Regions from separate parts of the Homo sapiens genome. Here regions 2 and 3 are each linked to region 1. Evidence: promoter capture Hi-C in human tissues and cell types (Jung and others, 2019). All regions are on one chromosome and are shown on one strand. Each heading gives the region's core, a stretch centred on a gene start or on the middle of the fragment in contact. The rest is flanking DNA. Distances are from core to core; before and after follow the strand shown. Region 1 holds the start of MRPS10 (mitochondrial ribosomal protein S10). Region 2 overlaps UBR2 (ubiquitin protein ligase E3 component n-recognin 2). Region 3 has its middle 38 kb from the start of UBR2.

Region 1 (2,768 bases), core at 119-2,618:
GAGCCACTGCACCTGGCCTTTTCTTTTCTTTTCTTTTTTTTTTTTTTTTTTTAGACAGAGTCTCATTGTGTCTCCCAGGCTGGAGTGCAGTGGCACGATCTTGCCTCACTGCAACCTCCACTTCCCGGGTTCAAGCAATTCTCGTGCCTCAGCCTCCTGAGTAGCTGGGACTACAGGCACACAACGATGACACCCCACTAATTTTTTGTATTTTTAGTAGAGATGGGGTTTCACCATGTTGGCCAGGCTGGTCTCGAACTCCTGACCTCAGGTGATCCGCCCACCTCAGCCTCCCAAAGTGCTGGGATTACAGGCGTGAGCCACCGCACCCAGCCTGAAGAAGTTTTTATTATAGCAAATCCCAGTTATACATCTTTTTACTTGGAAAAAATTATGGTGGACATTAATAATTAGACAAAACACTTTGGCTTGTTGTAAGTGAAGCTAGCCATTGTAAATTCCTAAATACTAGAGTAACATAAGGAAATGAATAATTTAGAAAGATCAGTAGGACAGCGGTATACAAAATGGTTGGAGCACAGGAATTCCAATTGGTGTGGGGAAGGAAGAAAGGATTAAGAACCATAATTAGAAAGCCGCTGCAATAAGGTAACTGAGTGGCAACTGGACCCAATGGTAGTGGCCGACTTTTCTTTTTCTTGTTAAATATAGATTTTGTTAAAATTTTGAAAAATGCAAAAAAAATTGAAAAATGCAAAAATAGGAAAATAAATCACCCATTATTCCAGTACTGAAGTAAATGGTGTCAATACACTAGTTTCAGTCCGGGCTTTGTGGTTCATGCCTGTAATCTCAGTCCTTTGGGAGGCCAAGGCCAGAGGATCACTTGAGGACAGGAATTCAAGACCAGCCCACAAAATAACGAGAGCAATATAATGAGACCCTGTCTCTACAAGAAAATTAAAAAAAAAAACAAAAAATTAGTCGGCTGTGGTGGCACGCACTTGTAGTCCAGCTACTTGGGAGGCTGAGGCAGGAGGATCACTTGAGGCAGGAGTTTGAGGCTGCAGTGAGCTATGACTGTGCCACTGCACTCCAGCCTGGGCAGCCGAGTGAGACTCAGTCTCTAAAAGGAAAAAATAAGTAAATAAATAAATGTGTGTGTGTGTGTGTGTGTATACACACACAACAATTTAAAGGTGAAAACATTAATAGGGCTTGGTAACTATCCAGACACTGGCCGGAGCCAAACCAGCCTGGCCAGCCAACTGTCCCGCCCCCAAAAAGCACAGGTTCATGTCTCTATGGTTGTTCCAGCGCCGGAACATGAGGATGTACTCTCTTCTTTTGCGGAACTCTATGGTCTGAGGACGCCGCTGTAACCCCGGAAGCAATCCTGAGAGGTCGGGACCGGCAAGATGGCGGCGCGGACAGCGTTCGGTGCTGTGTGCCGGCGCCTCTGGCAGGTACTGGATTGGCTAGGGAGACTAGGAGGGCTGACCGGGATAGTTGCTTTTAAGTTTCCCTGCCACCAGCCGCTCTGCCCATCAGGATTTTTCCTGATATTTATCCCTCACCTCGCGCCGTTTACAGGAAAGTGACGAGAAAGGGGCTAGTTTTATCAGAATTCTCTCATGGAATTAAATATAAGTTAGTGAGTCCAGGCAAAGATAGGAACAAGAATAATCGTAGAATGTCAGAGCTGGAAAAGATTTTGTACTTCGTATGTTCCAAAACCCCTCCTTTCACGCTTGCAAAATAAACTGAGGCTCAGAGAAGACAGGAAATTTGCCTCGCGAAAATTAGAGGCTGAGCTGGTGCAAGATATCAGACTCTTCCCATGGAACTAAATTGAGATGCTTTCCTGGCATCCAAATTTAGATGAAGGTCTCAAGCCAGAGAAGTGGGTTAGATATCCTCTGCGCAGTTATTTGCAGGAGGAGCAAAAACTTTTCAGCAGCGGTTCTCCTGCTTTTTGGCCTTGGGACCACTTTACACTTTCGGAGTTCAGGACTCCAGAGAGCTTTTGTTTTTGTGGGTTTTTGCTATCTATATTTAGCTTTTTGGAAAATAAAACTTAAGAATATATATTGATTTAAAAGTAACACTAACTCATTACATGTTACAACTAATACTTTATGAAAAATATATTTTCTGAACAAACTGAGTAAGGAGCAGCAATGTTTTACATTTTTGCAGCTCTCTTTAATTTCTGGCTTAATAAAAGCTAGATTCAAATCTGCTTCTGTATTTAATCTTTTCCTATATCACACCTCAGGCTGTCACGGGAAAACTTCACTGTACACTGGTAAGAGAATGAGTGGAAAAGTTGTAAATGACGTTTTGGTTTTATGAAAATAGTTTTGATTTCCCGGATCCCCTGAAAGTGTCTCAGACCCCACAGACGTCCTCAGACTACACTTTGAGACCACCGTTTTTGTTTTTGTTTTTGTTTGGAGACGGAGTTTCGCTCTTGTCGCCCAAGCTGGAGCGCAATGGCACGATCTCGGCTCACTACAGCCTCCACCTCCCGGGTTCAAGTGATTCTCCTACCTCAGCCTCCCGAGCAGCTGGAATTACAGTCATGCGTCACCATGCCCAGCTAGTATTTGTATGTTTAGCAGAGACGGGGTTTCACCATGTCGGTCAGGCTGGTCTCGAACTCCTGACCTCAAGTGATCCGGCAGCCTCGGCCTCCCAAAGTGCTGGGATTACAGCCTTGAGCCACCGCACCCGGCCTGAAAACCACTGTTCTTGAGAAAAGTCAGATGGTATTAGAGATTGAAATTTTTGAACTGCTTTATTAA
Region 2 (2,768 bases), core at 178-2,677, 380 kb before region 1:
TTGCTGGTGTCTTCTTAAAATTCAGGAAATTAAGTAGAGCTTGGACTGTTGGATAGCCATCCCACTAATGTATGAGGATAAAGCCAACAGAGCAAATGTAGGCAGATTCAAAACTTTTCATTAGAAAATTATTTTAAGTCTACTCTAACACAGGGATAAAAAAGGTAACAGAAGTCCTAAAGTATCTTTTCCAAATAAATGACATGACATTTACAGAACATAAAATTAACCATTTTAAAGTGAACAACTCAGTGGTACTTGGTACATTTATTATAACGTGCAACTACTACAATCTAGTTCCAAAACATTTCCATCACTCCAAAGTAAAACCCCTTACCTACTAAGCCATTTCTCTCCATTTTCCTCTTCCCCAGCCCCTGGCAACTACCAATCTGTTTTTTCTCTCTACAGATTTACCTATTCTGAATATTTCATATAAAAGGAATCATACAATATGTGACCTTTTGAGTCTAGCGTCTTTCACTTAATATGTTTTAGAGGTTCATGCATGTTGTAGCATGTATCAGTTCTTCATTCCTTTTTATGGACGAAAAATATTCCATTGTATGTATATTATCACAATTTGTTTATCCATTCATTCACTGATGGACATTTGGGCTGTTTCTACCTTTTGACTATTGTGAACAACATTGCTACAACATGTGTGTGCATGTACTTGCTCAACTTCGGTTTTCAGTTCTTTTGGGTATATATCTAGGTGTGAAATATACGGTAATGTTTAATATTTTGAGGAACAGCCAAACTGTTTTCCACAGCACTGAATCATTTTATATTTCCACTAGCAATATACAAGGGTTCTAATTTCTCTATATCCTTGTCAATACTTGTTATTACTTTAATAGTCATCTTACTGAGGGTGAAGCAGTATCTCACTGTGGTTTTGATTTTGCATTTCCCTAATGACTAATGATGTTCAGCATCTTTTCATGTGTTTGTTGATTATTCATATATCTTCTCTGTAAAAATGTCTATTCAAGTCTTTTGCCCATTTTTAAATTGGGTTATCTTTTTACTTGCTGAGTTGTAAGATATAAACTCTGCATACTAGATCCTTTTTGGATACATGGCTTGGATATACACACATATACTTTCTCCTGCAGTCCTAAAGTTTTATACCAGTGGTTTTTAACCTTTTTCTAAAGCACAATTCTTTTTTTTCAAATATATCTTTATTTGTCCTGTATTTCTACATACAGAACCCCAATCAACTATATAAAAATGGAGCTTCTCCAATAGAAGTGGAAAAATCTGGAACCTTGACCACTTGGCATCTTACTGTAGCAAATTACAGAACCCTTTCACAAAGCAAATGAAAAACAAAACATGTTTTCCATAGCACTGAATCATTTTGTATAAATTTTGATTTGTACATCAAAAGCTTTGGTCATTCTGATAAAATATATTTGAGACCTGTAGGATATGGGTACCAGGAAGAACTTTTTTTTTTTTTTTTTTAAAGACAGGGTCATGATCTTGGCTTGCTGCAACCTCTGCCTCCTATGGCTCAAGCGGATCCCACTTCAGCACCCCCAACCCAAGTGGCTGGGACCACAGGCACGTGCCACAACACCCAACTAATTTTTGTATTTTTTGTAGGGATGGGGTTTTGCCATTTGCCCAGGCTGGTCTCAAACTCCTGGGTTAAAGTGATCCACCCGCCTTGGCTTCCCAAAGTATTGGTATTATAGGTATGAGCCACCTTGCCTGGCTGAGGAAGGACTATTGATGTCCACTTGCCCCAAATCTATATCAGGCCTACTAACAATGTAGACGTACTTGAGTGTACCTATTCCCCTGCCATTTAAAAATAAAATCTGAAAGAAGGATCTTGAACTATACAACAAATTGTCATAAAATGTAGCAGAAGAGGGACTGCCACAGGTTGGCTAACGGATACAAGAACAAAGCTAGATAGAAAGAATGAGTTCTAATGTTCTACAGCACTATAGCATGACTATAATTAACAATTTACTGTATATTTTCAAATAGCTAGAAGAGCGGATGGTGAAGGTTTCCAAAACCAAATAATGTTAAATGCTTGAGGTGATGGATATGTTAATTACCCTGATTTGCTCATTACACATTGTATATATGTATCAAAATATCACACTGTGCCCCATAAATATCACGCTGTACCCCATAAATATGTACAATTATTGTCAATTAAAAATAATAAAACATAATCTATTGTAGCATACCATTGAAAGATTTAATCATTGTATAATTACAGTTAAGTGAGTTATTAGAAATATATGGAAAGTTTTTGAAGTTTTAAAAAAAGCAGCAGAGATTTAAGCATTTATTTTGTGGGACTCTACTATTCCATTACAAATCCATTTAAGAAAAATAATGCAGGATCAACAATTTGAAAAACACAGTAAGCAGTGGGAATTATTTGTACTGAGCTATCATCACTACACATGGTCCCATCACATAACCAATGATAATGGAAACCAGGAGATGATGATTGGGATTGGCTGTCATGTATGGTAACAGAAAAGAAAGCTATCTGGCCCCAAAAGTCTTTGTTATAATAAAGATATACAAAACTCAACTTGGTTAACTGGTCTACACATATGGGAAAAATAATCCTCTCAACCATAGGTTAGTACTCAAATAAACTTCAAGTATGCTTAAAACAAAACCCCAACCAAATAAAAAATCAGAATTAAATGAAATTTCCCAAATTTCAACTGTGTACTATTAGCAACCGTACAGCATCCACAAAATGCAAAGAACTTTCAAAG
Region 3 (2,768 bases), core at 190-2,689, 310 kb before region 1:
TGTGGCTTTGAAGAAAGGACCCAGCAGCCCTGTGACCCTTCATACATACCTTGACATTACCATCCAGTCTCCTGTCTCCTGAGATACCTGTAATTACACTCCCTGATTGCAATAATGGTATATGCAAACAACCCACAAACCTCAGTGGCTACAAACTACAAACATTTGTTTTTCTTCCTTCTGAGTTGACTGGGCCTGCTCTGCTTCAGGCTTTGGGTCAGATTCAGGTCTGCTTCATGGGCCTCTCATTTTGGAGAGAGTGGCCAAGAGGCCAACCCAAGGAAACTCCATTCCAGTCCTCTGCTCAGGGTGTCTACAAACATCCCATTGGCCAAAGTGTGTCATGTGACTGATCCTAAAATAAATGGAATAGATATTTATATTCCATATACTTTCATGGAAAATCCTAACACAGGGAGAGATTACAGAGTTGGGAATGATAATCCAAACTACCACAGCTCTCACTGGGCAAACCCGAAGAAGGAGACGTCACAGAGCCTGTTGTTGCCGTCTATTCAGATCAGCCTTCCAGGGCACAGAGCAGGGTGAGAGGGGATAGAGGCATCTGGAGGGGCAAACAAAGATATCTCTGCAGGATCGCATGAGTTAATTATTATTATTATTTTAGAGATGAGGTCTCACTCTGTAGCCTAGGCTGGACTGCAGTGGCATGAGCATGGCTCACTGCAGCCTCAATTTCCTGGGCTCAAACGATCCTCTCACCTCAGCCTCTCAAGTAGCTGGGCTACAGGCATATGCCGCCATGCCTGGCCAATCTTGGTATTTTTTGTAGAGGTGGGGTTTCACCATGTTGCCCTGGCTGGTCTCGAACTCCTGGGCTCAAGCAATCCATTCATCTCAGCCTCCCGAAGTGCTGGGATTATAGGGGTGAGCCACTGTGTCTGGCCAAGTTAATATTTTAATGAGCTTAAAATATTGGCTCACATAAAAATACCATACAAGTGTTTGTTGGATGAAAAAATAGGCCAGGCCCAGTGGCTCATGCCTGTAATCTCAGCACTTCAGGAGGCCGAGGTGGGTGGATCATTTGAGACCAGGAATCTGAGACCAGCCTGGCCAACAGGGCGAAATCCTGTCTCTACAAAAAAATACAAAAACTAGCCAGGCGTGGTGGCATGCACCTGTAGTCCCAGCTACTCAGGAGGCTGAGGCATGAGAATCGCTTGAACCAGGGAGGCAGAGGTTGCAGTGAGTTGAGATGGCACCACTGCACTGCAGCCTGGGTAACAGAGTGAGACTCTGTTCTCAAACAAACAAAACAAAACAATAAAACATGGTGCCATTGAGAATGATATTTTTAAGAATATTTAAGTATTTAAAATTTTTATAATGAATTATAAGTGAAAGAGGTTATAAAGCAGTTATACATTATAACATCATTTAAACATACTATATACCTAGAAGAAGGGCTGAATTTAGCAAAATGTTAATATTGTTGTTGGGAGGTAGAGTCATGGGGCATTTTTATTTCTGTGCTCTGTGTTCAGAATAAGGTTGTCACATATGGCCTCATAGGTTGCGCACTGCACAACTCCAGGAGGCCCCCTTTGTCCTTCTTCCTACTTCCAACTTGCATAACCTCCTTTATTGCCCACACCTTCTAGAACACAGACGTATTACTCTCATGTAATCAAACAAATAAATACAGTTTAAAAAATTGCAACCTTGCCTTTTCTTCCTAACATACTTCAAAGACAAATGAAGTTGACCTAGTTTGTCATTTTTATTAGAGCTGGAGAGAAATTACCTCTGGACTCTAAAACGGTTGTTATAAAGGTAAACTCAGCAACTCTTGGGACAATCAAGGAATGTACAGTCATGACTGCAGAACTGAAAGGTACTGCGTCACATGCGTAGGATAAGTAAACATATTTGGCCTGAGTAAGTTAATCACATTTTTAAAACCCTGAAATGTATTTTATCTACTGAAAAAATTCAGAACTGCTGAATCAGAAATGATGAATATGAGCATGAAATGCTCATATTAAATTCACAATGAAGAAGATTTAAAATAAAATGATTTAAATAAAGAGATTTAAAGTAAAATGATTCTCCCGTCATGCACAGGACAAAAGGAGCCTGGTTCTTAATGGCATTCTACACTAACCCTGGACTTCTCAGCTCCATACTTCTTATATGTAAGATAGCAAATATCTTTACTACTTAGGCCACTGTAATTGGGCACTGTTCTTTGCAGCCAAAGCATTATATAAGAAGCTTTGAACCCCTCCCTTCCCTAGATGGAGTCAAACAATTCCTCTTCTATGTGCTCACGACCCATTGCACCTCTATTCTAGAATTCAGCATATAGTGTGATATGGTTTGGCTCTGTGTCCCCCAACCAGATCACATCTCGAATTGTAATCCCCACGTGTTGAGGGAGGAAGGTGATTGGATCATGGGGGTGGTTTCCCCCATGAAGTTCTTGTGATAGTGAGTTCTCATGAGATCCAATGGTATAATGAGGCAGTTTTTCCTGCTCTTGCTTGCTCTCTGTCCTGCTACCTTGTGAAGAAAGTGCCTTGCTTCCCCTTCCGCCGTGATTGTAGGTTTCCTGAGGCTTCCCTAGCCATGCAGAACTGTGAGTCAATTAAACCTCTTTCCTTTATAAGTTACCCAGTCTCAGGTAGTATCTTTACAGCAGCGTGAATACACTGCTGTATATTATATAGAATAATATATAGAATTATTCTATATAGGATATGGAATAATATATAGAATTATTCTATATAGGATATGGAATAATA

What was found. Contacts are between HindIII fragments. The study calls those that stand out against the background at their distance.
Region 2: a fragment that was not itself captured here is called in contact with the fragment with the promoter of MRPS10 in region 1 in 1 of the 25 tissues and cell types used here (aorta).
Region 3: a contact is called between a fragment that was not itself captured here and the fragment with the promoter of MRPS10 in region 1, in 1 of the 25 tissues and cell types used here (aorta).

The regions. Positions count from the first base shown.
Region 1 is chr6:42,216,461-42,219,228 of GRCh38, reverse strand. It overlaps MRPS10 (mitochondrial ribosomal protein S10), which reads left to right and starts at 1,368. Exons shown (of 7, transcript NM_018141.4): 1 at 1,368-1,427. The coding sequence starts at 1,380. RefSeq lists enhancers at 1,201-1,480, 2,052-2,653, 2,654-2,768. The HindIII fragment of the contact is 13,512 bases long and covers 1-2,768 here.
Region 2 is chr6:42,594,427-42,597,194 of GRCh38, reverse strand. All of the region lies in intron 4 of UBR2 (ubiquitin protein ligase E3 component n-recognin 2), which reads right to left. Among named protein-coding and RNA genes, the nearest start is that of UBR2, 32 kb to the right of the region's middle. The HindIII fragment of the contact is 7,676 bases long and covers 1-2,768 here.
Region 3 is chr6:42,524,382-42,527,149 of GRCh38, reverse strand. No RefSeq gene overlaps it. Among named protein-coding and RNA genes, the nearest start is that of UBR2, 38 kb to the left of the region's middle. The HindIII fragment of the contact is 9,731 bases long and covers 1-2,768 here.